2 separate regions of the Homo sapiens genome follow, and region 1 is linked to region 2. Evidence: promoter capture Hi-C in 16 types of primary human blood cells and fetal thymus (Javierre and others, 2016). All regions are on one chromosome and are shown on one strand. Each heading gives the region's core, a stretch centred on a gene start or on the middle of the fragment in contact. The rest is flanking DNA. Distances are from core to core; before and after follow the strand shown.

Region 1 (6,768 bases), core at 3,473-5,972, 300 kb before region 2:
GCTGTGTCGCCCTGGCTGGAGTGCAGTGGTGTGACCCTAGCTCACTGTAATCTTGAACTCCTGGGCTCAGGCGATCCTCCTGCCTCAGCCTCCCGAGTAGCTGGGACTACAGGCATGTGCCACTGTGCCTGGCCAGTTTTTTTTTTTTTTTTTTTTTTTTTGAGATGGAGTCTCGCTCTGTCGCCCAGGCTGGAGTGCAGTGGCGGGATCTCGGCTCACTGCAAGCTCCGCCTCCCGGGTTCACGCCATTCTCCTGCCTCAGCCTCCCAAGTAGCTGGGACTACAGGCGCCCGCCACTACGCCCGGCTAATTTTTTGTATTTTTAGTAGAGACGGGGTTTCACCGTTTTAGCGGGGTTGGTCTCGATCTCCTGACCTCGTGATCCGCCCGCCTCGGCCTCCCAAAGTGCTGGGATTACAGGCGTGAGCCACCGCGCCCGGCCGGCCAGTTTGTTTTAAATTGGCCCTCTGGCTGCTGCATGGAGAATACAGTCGCAGGGGCAGGTGTGGTGGGAAAGAGGCCATCATTACCTGAAGGTGGCCTGGGCCAAGGCAGGGACAGTGGAAATGGATTGGGAGATATTTGAGAGGGCTTGGGGTGGTGAGATGAATTGGGAGAAGGTCTCAGCAACTGGGTGGGGCGTGGAAGATGTGAGGAGTCCAGCCTGCCACCACGGCATGGGCACAAGGATGCTGACAAAAGCCCCAGGCCTGGAGTCCCATTCACTGGCCTGCCATAGCTCCTGGAAGTCCACCAGCCTTCTACGGCAACAAAGTCCCAGCAACCTTCAGCACTGAACCAGGAGGCGTGAAGCTAAACTCCCAGTTCTAGTGGGAGGAAGGGGCATAGGGAAGGGGCATAGGTTGGAGGGGAGGTGTTTGGGAGGCTTTGGGCATGGCCCAGAGAAGTGGAGATGTTCTCATCTTGAAAAATGCTGACCACACTGTGGTCCAAAGGGAGTGACCCCAGAACATCCCTTTCCTGGAATAATTTACAGATGTGTGGCTTCTCAAAGCAAGAGAAAAGGAGAAATGGTGCCCCTGACACTTTCTTATGGCAAATACCAGGGCCCCAGAGCCTCTGTGCTACCGTGATTTGGCCTTTTCCGCTCATGCCTCTGCGGTCTGCAAACAGGGAAGTTGCTCAGAGCAGCCTGTGTTGAACGGCGGAGCTGGGATGTTGTGGTCTCGTTCCCCATCCTGAGGCTCGCCTTTGCTGAGCCAGGGAGAGACTAGGAAATTGGGTAACTTGAGGGCTGAGCAGCTGCTGGCTCAGGGTAGAGGCTTGGCAGGAGGTGGGCTCCCCTCAAAGCCACCTGGCCAGCTGGGCAAAGCTGCCAGCGCGGTCACCATTCTGGCTGTGGACCAGCTCTTGGAGGAATGGTGGTCAGCTCTGGATAAGGGCTCAGGCTGAGTAAGACTGTGCTGGTCGCACTCTGAGACAGTCAGGGCTAGATGGAGCGATGGGTGAGTTAGGGCCCAGAAGGAAGCGGGAGCTTTGGGGCCTGGTGTGGACACTCACTCACAGGACCTGGGTGTTTGTAAACGTGTGTGAAATGCTGATGAATGGTAAGCCTGCTGCCACATCAGTGCTTCTCCGAGACCACAGCCGAGGGGCCCTGCCTCCGCCCCATGGCCTGGAAGGAGCATCGGCGGTCTGAGCCCACATCTTGCCGTTGGTCCAGCTGGGTGGAGTGAGGCTGGATCACGGCCTGAGTGCTGAGTCAGATTCCCTCCTTCCTGGGGGCACCTCGGGACTGAGCCAGAGCGGGTGCTGTCTCCCCCCCAACCCCACACCCCCCGCAGACCTGATTTTGCAATGTCTGCTTCCCACAGAGCTGCTGCTGGGGGAAGTTGAGGAGACACGAAGTGTGAAGTCTTTGGTGAGAAGGTGGATGAAATTCTCCCAAGCTGGGACCTGGTTCATGGGGACTTTTTAAGGCTGAGAGCCCAGAATCTAAACCCTGTCAGAGAGGAAGGAACCCCAAACTGCTTCCCCCTACCTTTGGTCAGATCAGGGAGGGTGCAGGGCTGGGTTCTGGACCGTGCTCCTCTCCCGCCACAGGCTCCACTGCACACACCTAGCCACGTGCCCTCGGTGAAAAGCTGCTGAATGGGCAAGTGCTAAGGGCCTTCCAGGAAAGCCTTCCTGCCTCGCTGCCCAAACCCATCTTCACTCCAGTCCTGTTGCTGCCCTTACTGAACAGGTTACCCGGGATATCCTTTCCCCTCAGAGCTTCCACTCCTAATATAGTTGTTCCTTGGTGTCTATGGGGGACTGGTTCCAGGACCCTCCTCAGATACCAAAATCTGTGGATGCTCAAGTCCCTGGTATAAAATGGAATCGAGGCTGGGAGTGGTGGCTCACATCTGTAATCCCAGCACTTTGGGAGGCCGAAGAGGGTAGATCACCTGACATCAGGAGTTCGAGACCAGGCTGGCTAACATGGAGAAACCCTGTCTCTAATAAAAACACAAAAATTAGCCAAGTGTGGTGGTGTGCGCCTGTAGTCCCAGCTACTTGGGAGGCTGAGTCAGGAGAATCCCTTGAAGCTGGGAGGCAGAGGTTGCAGTGAGCTGAGATAGCGCCACTGTAATGCAGCCCGGACAACAGAGAGAGACACCATCTCAAAAAAAAAAAAAAAAAAAAAAAGGCATCGAATTCACATATAATCTATGCACATCCTCCCGTATACCTTAAGTCATCCTTAGACGACTTATAATACCGAATACAATGTAAATGCTATGTACATAGAAAAGTCTGAACATGGGGTTGGGCACGGTGGCTCACACCTGTAATCCCAGCACTTTGGGAGGCTGAGGCAGGTGGATTACCTGAGGTCAGGAGTTACAGACCAGCCTGGTCAACATGGTGAAACTAAAAATTCAAAAATTAGCTGGGTGTGGTGGCGGGCGCCTGTAATCCCAGTTCTCGGGAGGCTGAGGCAGGAGAATCGCTTGAACCTGGGAGGTGGAGATTTCACTGAGCCGAGATCACGCCACTGCCCTCCAGCCTGGGCTACAGAGCGAGACTCCACCTCAAAAGAAAAAAAGTCTGAACATGTTCAGTAGAGATGCCATTTTATTTCCTGAATATTTTCAATCCAGGGTTGGTTGAACCCAAGTACAGGGTGCACAGATACAGAGGGCCAACTGCACTTACAGTGGCTCTCGGCTATGCAGGGTGCTGGGATAGAGGCCACGTAGCTGTGTTAGAGTGGCCAGCACTGCTGCAGCCCCATCCACAAGGAGTGGTCAGAGCCATAGGTCTCTGACAAGGAAAAAACTCGAATCTGAGGCCCCTCACTGACCTCTGTCCTCACTGCCCAGAGCATGAGGAGGTGGCGGAGGCCTTTGAAATTCCCTTGCATGGTACACAGGGGGAAACTGAGTTAAGGGGAGGGCAGGAGCTTACCTGCAGGGCTCTCAGCACAGCCCTGGAACCCTTGGCTCTTCCCCCATCACTGTCGCCTTCTCAGCCTCATATCTTCCTGTCCCCAGCCCTGGCCTGGTCCTGAAGCTGGTGAGGCCCTTCTCCCTGCTGCCTCTCTGAGGGACCACAGGCATCCAAGAGAAAGCGCCTGATGGTGGCAGGGGGCCTAGGCCCCTGGCTGGACTGCCTGTGGGATCCTGGGCAAGTCCTCCCCGCTCTGGACTTTAGTCTGGCCATCTGTGCCATGGGGATAGTGGTTGCTGCTCCAGGAGGCAGACACGCTCAGCCTCACAGGAGAGAGACTACCCCCATCACCAGGGTGGGAGGCTCTTCCAGAAGCTCCCAGAGGCCCCTACCATGGGGCCTGAGCAGACCTGCAGCCAGGAGCCTGTCACAGGGACCTGACCGAGGGGCTGGCTGTGGCTGCATACCAGGACCCTGTCTGCTCGCCAGCACACACGGATGGCCATCACAGGCAGGGGTTTGGAGCATGGCTTTAGAGTGGGAATGGCCTGTCCCCATCATCCTAGGGCTTCGGGTTCCTCACGAGGAGGACAGGAGGAGTTGCCCCGAGGCTGTGAGGATTCAAGGGGACCTGCCCGGGGCTGTGGCTGCTCTGTGGCAGCTCTGAGGCTGAAGTGTGTCCTTGCCAGCTGCTCATAACCCCGGACACTAAGGGTGAGTGACTCATTCTGCTTCCCGGTACTCTTGGGGCTGGACACAGGCACACACATGTGCACACACTTGCCCCACGTGAATCTGTAGTCCTCGGGGGTTGGAGGTGATCACATCTTCAACCCCCAGGTGAGGGCCACATAAGACCTGGGCCTCCGTCTGGGCCAGAAGGGCAGGACAGGCCTGCCTCTGTACACTTCAGCTGCACGCTGGGGAGCCCCGGCCCCGCATAGTCAGAGGAGGGTGGGCTGACACACCCCTGAACCCTGGGTGGCTGGACGCAGACCTCAGACTGGGGAGGTGGGCACAATAGCCAGCCCCCAGGCCTGCTAAGAGGCCAGACAGGCGCCAGCTGCGGTTTCTCCCCAGGCCCCTGCCCCTCCATGTCAGTCCCTCCCTGTTCCCACCGCTGGCCGGCAGGGCCCAGACGCCGTGTGCCCCTGCGACTGGCTCACACTTACCTGCCCCCTGACGAAGCTGAAGCCTGCCAGGCAGAAGGCCAGGAGGCAGAGTGGGAGGAGGCCCCGGGGCCCCGCCATGGCTGGTGGGCACGCTGTCCAGGACAGAGTCGGGGCGTAGGGAATGAGCTCTAGGAGGCAGGCACAGCACAGGCAGGCGGGACGGGGCGGGCAGTGGCCTTAAAAGCAGCCCGGAGGCCCCGCCAGCTCACCCCCACAGGAACCCGCCAGGATTTCCTCCTGCATATCAGCAGCCTGCAGGCGGAAGGGAAGGTGCTGGCCACTGACCCCCCATGGGCGGCCTGAGCCCTGCTCGGGGCTTCCCGGCTGGGACCCTCCTGGCATCACAACCTGGAAGTCCAGGCCACCATGAGCCCCGGGACCTGGGCTCTATCAGAGGTTCTGAAGCAAATCCAAAGGCACACGTGAACGAGTCCCCCGCCTGCGAGCCCAGTGTGTTTCATTCAGAGGCTCCTGGGGTGCTGGTCGGCGGAAGGCAGGGCAGCCCCTGAATGGGTCTGTCTGTTCCTGCCTCCACCTTTCCAACTCCAGGGCGCTCATGGGGCTCTGACTCGCTACAGGCACCCTGCTAGCCCACCAGACCCACATCCCCTCACTAGCCCCAGCCACTCCTGAGCCGCTGGTCCTGCCCGCCAACCCCCATCCACCCTCCCTGCCTCCCTATCTGCCCTCCACTCAGCAGCCCATGCTCAGCCAGCTTGCTGCAGCACCTCCAAACCCCTCTCCAGCTGGCTGGTCTCTCTGAACTCTCCCCAGACAGGTCTGCTCCAGCCGCGCAGGCCTCTCTGCTCCTTCAGTGAGCTCTCCCGGCATGTGCTGCTACCCTAGATTGTCACACTCTGGCTCCTTCTCACAGGTGGTCTCAGGTCAAGGGCCACCACTTCAGAGCGCCTCCCTGGTCTCAGCCTGCAGGTGGCCCTGCACCTGGTTCACCTGGCAGCACCAGCCACCAGCTGACATTGGCTTGTTTCATTTGTCTCCCCTGGAACATTGGCTGTGGAAGAGTAGGGGCGCTGTCTGGCTGATTCGCACAGTGGATGCTCAATACACGTGTGCAGAAGGAATAAATGAATGGAGGTGGCTACTTTTATGATCCCTCTGTTACTGGTGGGGAAACTGAGGCTCAGAGGGGCTGGGTAGCTTGTCTGAGGTAATCAGTTTTCATATCCAATCCCAGGGCTACTGTCTGAAGCCACCACTGCCTGCACAGCCAGCACCCCCAAGAGGTGCAGTGGGCCCAGGCTGAGGGCCTCTGCGTGCCAGGGCTGCACGTGGTGGGCCTTGCCTCCAGTTGTCACTACCCCCAACTGCAGACGGCGTAACAGTTGGGGAGACAGGAGTGGGCCAGAGCCCGGTGGCCATCTGTAAATGCTTTGGTAAAGGCCAGGTTGGGGAAAGTTTCTCCTCCCCAGCACACCTCCACTCCCATCAGTTTGGAGGGGCCTTCAGGCAGGCCTGAGATCTGGCTGGGATGGGGGTTGCAAGGGGAAACCCTCCCCACATTCCCCACACCCACAGTCTTCCTGGGGGTGAAGGGTCCTCCAGGCAGGACCCCCACTCTGCTGGCACCAAGGGAAACGGGGGAACAGAAGCAGGCCTGGGACCCAGGCTGGCCACGCCACCCACCTCTCCACAGCCCTGCCTGGCCTGGCTGCCCCAAGGTCCTGGGGACTGAGGCTCCTGGCTGGGCCAGGATGAGTTATGTGGGGCTCATAGGCCCTGCTCTGGCAGCAGGAATGGGGTTGGGGAAGAGTGTGGCATGGGGTTGGCTACCAAAATCCCAGGTCCTACCTCAGCAGGCTCCCTGAAGCAACCCTCAGGGAGGGGCCCATGAGCCTCATGTTTCAGGGACATGAAGACAGACACAGATGGGTATGTGCCCCTCCCTCCACTGTCCACCACCTGGGTCCACCTCCCCACAGACCTCCCCTGCTGCCATTCAAGGGCCACCTTGGTGAGATGCCCCGGCCCCCACCAGCCACCTCAGACTCTGGGATCTCTCTGTCCTCCTCGCCCCTCCCCCACTCTCAACAGGGGTTGTGAAACAGGTGGGGTTGGGCCCAGGGGTGACTGACACATAAGACCTGCAGGACAGCCTGAAGAGGGTGGCATGCCCCGCACCCAGGCAGAGGGGCAGCGGCTGGTGTGTCAGGGGTGCCCTGAGGAGTTTCTTGTTTGCCCT
Region 2 (7,354 bases), core at 2,562-5,061:
TTGCCTCTTAAACCCACAGTATTTCTCGTCATAAATCCAAAAAAAGTACCATTTTCTAGTTTTAGACAACCCGGAATCCTTGAGTTGGATCATTTCCAGTAATTTCTACCCCAACTACACTCAGCTTATTTTATGAGAGGACACACTCTGTAAGGTAACGGGAAATATTCACACACATTTTTTTCTCTGCTAACATTTTCCTTTCCTTTTTTTTTGAAACAGGATCTCACTCTGTCAACCAGGCTAGAGTGCATGGTGCAATCATAGCTAACTGCAGCTTTGACCTCCAGGCTCAAGTGATCCTCTCACCTTAGCTCTCCAAGTAGCTTGGACTGCAGGTGTTCTACTGCGCCCAGCTAATTCTTTTTATTTTTTATTTTTTGTAGAGACGGAGTCTTGTTATGTGGCCCTAGCTTCTATCAAACTCCTAGGCTCAAGCAGTCCTCCCGCCTCAGCCTCCCAAAGTGCTGGAATTACAGGCATGAGCCACCACATCCTGTCTCTGCTGACATTTTCTAAACAGATTCTTGACAAAGAGGCTTGCTGTTGCTTAACATAAAAGCTATTGGTTTTCATCTAAACAACAGAAATTAGACTAAGACTTAGGTCTTTAGATTGCTAATAAAGTAAGAAAAAATAGGGGTATATCACATTCACATACCTCATCTACTTTCTCATCTAAATTCATCAAAGTCTGCTGACTAAACACCGTTGGCTGGTAATTATCCTTCTAGCTACAGTGACTTCCCTCTCCCCTTGAGCAAATTCATTCACCTTCTTTCTAGAAAAGTCTTTCTTCATCATTCTGGAACACTCCTGTGAGTCACTGGCTAGCCTTTCCTATAACTTGGGTAAAGTGTCTCAATACAGTTTTCATTAAAATCTTCTATAACGGAAGGCCAAAAAAATTATTTTGAAGTTAATTTCATTTATTATAAAAGTAATACATATTCATTAAAGTCTAGAAAAAGAAAAAAATCCTATCATTTAAAACATAGCCATTGCAAGCATTTTGGTAAAAAAGACGTAACTAACTCTTGAAAATAAACCCTACAAAGGATTAAATCCTTTCTGCTTAAAGAAAAAAAAAACTTATTTTCTTACAAGCCCACACCCAGAGAACACGCCTAAGAAAAACCTGTAAAATATTCTCTGGGATTAAGTGGAACCTGAAAAGCTTTGTTCTCTCCTATCAGAAGCAGAGCAAACTAAATTCAACTCTAGTCTCTTTGTTAAAAACAACAACAACAAATGTATATACAAATAAAGATACATGGCATGATCTCAGCTCACTGCAACCTCTACCTCCCGGGTTCAAGCAATTCTCATGCCTCAGCCTCCCAAATAGCTGGGATTACAGGCGTACACCACCACATCCAGCTAATTTTGTATTTTTTGTAACAGTGGGGTTTCACCATGTGGCCAGGCTGGTCTCGAACTCCTGGCCTCAGGTGATCAAACCACCTCGGCCTCCCAAAGCGCTGGGATTACAGGAGTGAGCCACTGCACACAGCCAAGATAAATTTGTTTTTAAAAATCACTAATAAATACTGTACAATTTCACTTATATGAGGTACCTAGAATAGTCAAATTCATAGAGACAGAAAGCAGAATGGTGGTTGTCAGGGGTTGGGGAGAGAGGAATGGAGAGTTACTGTTTGATGGGTATAGAATTTCAGTTTGGGAAGATGAAAAAAGTTCTGGAGATGGATGGTGGTGGTGACACAACAATATGAATGTACCACTGAACTGCACATTTTTAAGTGCTTAAAATGGTAATTTTTCTTGGGCATTTTACCACAACAGAACAAAAACTTTTAAGAAAAAAAAAATCACTACTTTAAAAAGCCAAAGGGGCCGGGCACGGTGGCTCACGCCTGCAATCCCAGCACTCTGGGAGGCTGAGGCAGGTGGATCATTTGAGGTCAGGAGTTTGAGACCAGCCGGACCAACAAGGTGAAACCCTACTAAAAGTACAAAAATTATCTGGGCGTGGTGGTGCATGCCTGTAATTCCAGATACTTGGAAGGCTGAGGCAGGAGAATCACTTGAACCTGGGAGGTGGAGGTTGCAGTAAGCCGAGACTGCATCACTGCACTCCAACCTGGGCGACAGAGCAAGACTCAGTCTCAAAAAAGAAAAATTAAATAAATAAAAAGCCGAAGGCCAAATGTTTAATGAGGGAAATTAGAAGGCTAAATGTTTAATGAGGGAAATTAGAACATTCCAATTTAATATTTATGTGAACGAGGCACTGAGGAAACACTAAAACCCCTATAGACACTAACGTGCAATCCAAAAACCTGTAATGTGCAACACTGGCCACTGTTTCACCTTTAAAGATGGAAAAGCTAAAAGTGCCTACCCTTGGGGGGACAATCATATGAGATAATCTGTGCTCAGAGCCCAGCCTGCACATAGCAGCCCTCTGTGAGTGAGTGTGACCCTCACCACCACTGTGGGGACTGCTTCTAGTCTACCAATGAGCACAAACACCCATACCTGCTCCTTCATTGTCAATGACACTTACTCTCACTGGCCGGAGGGGTTTCTTTGATCTGTTGGTAGTGTACTGCTGCAGTGGACAATGCCCGAGGGGCTGGCTTGGCCCCAACTTCCATCATCTTGGGGCAGTTTTGGGCATAGAACAACAGAGATTTGCCTGCTTTCTGCAGAAAGGCCTGGGGGACTCGGGATAAGAATGGGCAGCGGCGAACAACACTCTCCATGTTCAGGAAGTATGCTGGCTCCTGTGGAAAGACTGATGAAGAGTGACATCAACAGTTGTTAATAATCAGGCAAATATCACTGCAAGCTCACTGGATTCAGGTGTCAACCGCAGTTTATATAAAGGGTACCCTGGAATACTAACACTTCTCCCTCAAAAATGCCTAAGGACAGCACTGATGTGAGCTAAGGAATGGTGACCACACTTTACCCGGGTCACCAACTTCTTCATTCTCCAGCGCTACACAAAGGCACCTGCAAAGCAACTTCACCAAATGAATACTGACAGTACATAATCAAGGGGGCGGAAGGATGAGGGAAAGGTCAAGAACAGGTTTGGGAGGCCAGAGGTTTCTTAGGGAGATGCACAGTGCAGATAAGACATCTTGGCTTACATCTAGGTGGAGAAGAAGCCACTCATCCATCCAGGCAGGGAAGACTCTTAGGGATCCTGACTTTCTCCTGGTCCCCACATCCCCTAAACCCGAGGAAGGGGTCCAGCAGGGTCCCGAGTCCCTGAAGCAAGGATTCCTCCGTGGTCGTGTCCCCACAGCGGGAAGAACTGGGCATAACTGAGAAAGGAGGGGCACAAATGAGGGTAGGGGTATGAGGGCCAGCGCCTTGGGCCTCACTGGGGACGCGCAGGGGCTTATAAAGTCGAGGGAGTTGAGTCTGGAGAAAGAAGGCAGTCCTCCGGCAGTGGGGGTCAGAGGTGACCCGCGGTCGAGGTCTCGAGAATGACGGGAGGGGTATGAGAAGGGAATTCTAAAGCGGCGGGTTCAACCGGGAATAGCCGGAAGGGGCCGAAAGGGGGAAACTGAGGCGGCCGTCTAGGCAAAAGATCTGGAGGATAAACGCTGACCTCAAGGCGGCGGGTGACTGGGACAGTGGGGGATGGGGTCCCAGCACCCGGGGCAGCGGTGCCACGGCTGGCAGGACACCCCGGGGCTTCCTCGGCCGGCGCCGCACCTACCGCGCGGGCCCTCACCTGCGCTGAGGACTGCAGAGGCGGCGGCGAAGGAGGCGGGCACTCAAGTCGAGAAGTCCAAACGAAACGCTCGTTGCCCTTGTCCGGGAGCAGCCTCAGGCCGCGATCGCCGGCGCCTTAATATACAGCGGGAGTGACCGCTGCGCATGCGCCTTGGGCGCTGCCTTCTTCTGCGCAGGCGCGCCGCGTAGCCCTCGGCGAGCCGGGGGGGCGGGGCAGAGAGGCCCACTTCTTGGGCTCTGCGGATATCGGTGCTGCCGGGGATTCCCCGGCTCGCCTGCAGGGAGGAGGAAGCGCTAGGCGGTGGGCGGACGAGGTCTCTTTTCCCGACCTCATCCTGCACCCTCGTGCTGCCTCCCCACCAACTACCCTGGGCTTCAGAACCCTACGCCCCAATTGAGTATAAAATGGCAAGGTCGAGGCGAGGTGCCGCTAGGGCCAAGTTGGGGGCTACAGGGTTGTTAAGCTGGGTGTCTTGGACATGGAGGAAGAAGGAGATCCAAGGGGTTCTGGGCCGGGGTGTTAAGCAGGATCCATCCCGCCTGCGGCTTGCTTTGGAAACTGTGAACAAGGGCTTCCCGGAGGAGGTGGAGCTGGCTATATCGCCCACAAATGGAGTGGTCCTGGCAGGATGCGGAAGAAGCGGGACACTCAGCTGTGGCACTTTCTGGTCTAAGATGATCCAGAGGGGACAGAGGAACAGGGCTAGGGTGGAACCCATCCACTCCACAGCTCTGAGCACTTGGGGAGGAGGGGAAGGCACAGGGCCTGACAATAGTTAGCGTGTAACAAATATTAGCCACTATTTTTATTTTCCATCCAGGGTTGTCTGAAGCCCCTTGCTGGCCACCCTGGGCACCAGCAGGGTGGCTTAGGCCTCCATGCCAAAGGTCAGCGTTGGGCCATACCTCCATTGAGTTTCCCGGGTACAACACATAAAGTGTAGGGCTTGGCAAACCCGTCTCAGGAATGTCAGTCTGGCTTCCTTGCCCCACACCCTTCCCAGCTTGGCTTGGGCTGTGTTGGGCTGGGCCTGTGCCAGGCTCAGAGGTACTCTCCTCCATTCTTGAGGAAAGGGCCTTTGAGGGTATTCCTTTCCCAGCTGAGCATTAACAAGAGGGACAAAGTCCAGAATGATGGTGACCAGGGTGTGTCCAGGTACTTTGCATTTCTGTCTCTGAGCACCCAGCTGGCTGCAAGGCAGGTGAGGTGAGTCTCCACCTTCAGAGGAGGCACCTGGGTTCAGAGTGGCAGTGGGACCAGTCCAGGATGAGGGCTTTGGTCTGAGAGCTCGAGACCCAGTTCTGTGCCATTCAGCCAAGAGATCCTGGGCAGTGCCCATCACCCAGAGAAGATGAGAGAGAAAAGGTCAGCACTTGGACTTGGACCCAAGTGCAGCTGGAAGTGGGAACAGAATAAGGATGATATTGAGTGCTTTGCTCATCTTTGGGCCTTGCTTTCCTTATCTGGGCAATAGGATCATAATCCCTGAAATGCCTGCCTCACAGGTTGTTTTTGTTGTTGTTGTTATTTTGTTTGTTTGTTTGAGACAGAGTCTCCCTCTGTTGCCCAGGCCGGAGTGCAGTGGCACAATCTCGGCTCACTGCAACCTCTGCCTCCCAGGTTCAAGCGATTCTTCTGCCTCAGCCTCCTGAGCAGCTGGGATTACACCACCACGCCCAGCTAATTTTTGTATTTTTAGTAGAGATGGGGTTTCACCATGATGGCCAGGCTGGTCTTGAACTCCTGACCTCAAGTGATCACCCTCAGCTTCCCAAAGTTCTGGGATTATAGGCTTGAGCCACTGCGCCTGGCCCTCATAGGGTTTTTTTGGGGGTGATCAGAGCCAAAGCCAAAGCAGAAAGAACTGGATAGTGGAGTTGGGCATGGGTTTCAAACCCAGCTCTGAATCTTACTTGGCCATAGACTTGGGCAGGCCACAACCTCTTCAAGGCTTGGTTTCCTGATTTGTAAAGCTCTCCCGCCCTGCCACTTGTGGCTGGCAGGAGGGTCAGGTGAAGTCCTGTATTTCAGAGGCTTATTGTTTAAACCAGCCAGTCCCTAGCCCTCTGGGAGTTTCCTGTTTAATATAGAGAAAGATTGGGAAACAAGGCCGACTCACATGGAAAGTGAAATAGAGTGTTGTAAGCAACTCCAGATGGAGGAAGAGGAGGAGGCTATTACTCCAACAGGCGCTGAAAGAGGAGGATCCCAACCACGAGGAAGGCTTCCAGAAGAGAAGCGGGTGCTGGTTGGAAGGGTGGATCTACATGCGACTGGGAGACTGTGGGTGAAGCCTTGGATGGAAAAGGCTCAGCCCTGTGGGGGTGGCGGTTGGGGGGTCAGCGTGAGTCAGCCCAAATAGCTGGGCAACGGGAGTATGGTCAGGACCTGACGCCAAGAGGTCAGACCAGAAAGGCCCTAAATGAGCCACGGGGTTTCCCAGTGTCAGGGCCCAAAGAACCACCCCCAGGGTACCGGTCAAAATGCAGATTCCTGTGCCACACACCTTTGATTTTGACCCAGAAATCTGCATTTTAACCAGCTCCCCTTTCTGATGAGGTAAGGGTGAGGTATCTTGGAATATGTTTCTTGAGTGGTTCAAGGTTTGAGACCTTGAAGAGCAAGGCATAAGCCATGAGTTCTAGTCCTAACTCTGAGATCTTGAGCAAATTGCCTCATGCCTTAAATCTTAGTTTTTGTGTCTGTGAAATGAGAATGACCCCATCTGCCTCAGTGATGAGTCTGGGTGGGCACTATTCTGCTCCAGTTGTGATCCTTCGGGGCCTCTTCTTCTCCCCTCCGCCCCCTCCTCCTCTTCTTCTTTCTTTTTCTTCTTTTCCTTCTCCTTCTTCGCCTCTCACTCCTCCCTTGTCCTTCCCTCCTTCCCCATCTTCTTTTCCCTTTCTCTCCCTTTTTCTCTCTCCCTTACCCCTCCCTCCCTTTTCCCTCCTTCCCTCCTTCTCCCTCCCTCCCTTCCTTCTCAGAGCTACAGTATAAACTCATCTTATCACTCGCTCTGGCCCTGGGCAGCTGGAGTTGAGGCAAGGTCAGGCCCCATCCCAGGGATGACGCTGGGGACTTTTTTCCCTCCCACCCAGTCTGCATCATGGTCATCATTACCATCACTATCACCGTCCGGGGCTGCTGCACATAGTACCCACCCAATGGTCAAGGCAAAAGGAAAATGTCAACCCCAGCCCCTAGAATTCCCCCTTTTTATTCTGGGCCCCAGGAACTATTTTTATTTTTATTTTTATTTTTTCTCCCTTAAATAGCTGTTTATTAGCAATGTGCTAGAAAGGGTGATGGAGTTAGCATTCACAGACAACACACACCGCTGTCACGAGGGAGGCAAGCGCGCGGGCAAGCCAGCCTGGAGCCCCGAAGAGGAGTCCCCCTCTTCAAGAGAGCGTGGGAGGGGATGGGGCCTGGGGTGTTGGGGGGCAGCCTGGGAACACCTCCGCTTACTAGGCATGGTTAAAGATGAAGAGGGACTCACTGGCAGCAGCCCCAGCCTGACCGCTTGGAGTATACTTTCCTTGACAGGCGTGGCTATCTGCCAGGGCTCACTTGACATACTCCTTCTGCACAGCCTTCAGGTTCTCCTTCTTCCTGCCCCAGGCCTTCAGGGCAGAG

What was found. Contacts are between HindIII fragments. The CHiCAGO score rates a contact against its expected background, and 5 or more counts as called.
Region 1: the fragment with the promoter of STAB1 here is called in contact with the fragment with the promoter of ALAS1 in region 2 in 6 of 17 cell types (naive CD8 T cells, monocytes, activated CD4 T cells and 3 more); the score reaches 9.2 in naive CD8 T cells.

The regions. Positions count from the first base shown.
Region 1 is chr3:52,493,292-52,500,059 of GRCh38, reverse strand. STAB1 (stabilin 1) reads right to left here and starts at 4,722. Exons shown (of 69, transcript NM_015136.3): 1 at 4,569-4,722. The coding sequence starts at 4,646. The HindIII fragment of the contact is 21,004 bases long and covers 1-6,768 here.
Region 2 is chr3:52,194,617-52,201,970 of GRCh38, reverse strand. ALAS1 (5'-aminolevulinate synthase 1) reads right to left here and starts at 3,811. Exons shown (of 12, transcript NM_000688.6): 1 at 3,716-3,811; 2 at 3,123-3,299; 3 at 2,531-2,761. The coding sequence starts at 2,729. It also overlaps the pseudogene ALDOAP1. RefSeq lists silencers at 3,570-3,649, 3,760-3,829 and enhancers at 3,970-4,189, 4,200-4,269. The HindIII fragment of the contact is 12,746 bases long and covers 1,180-7,354 here.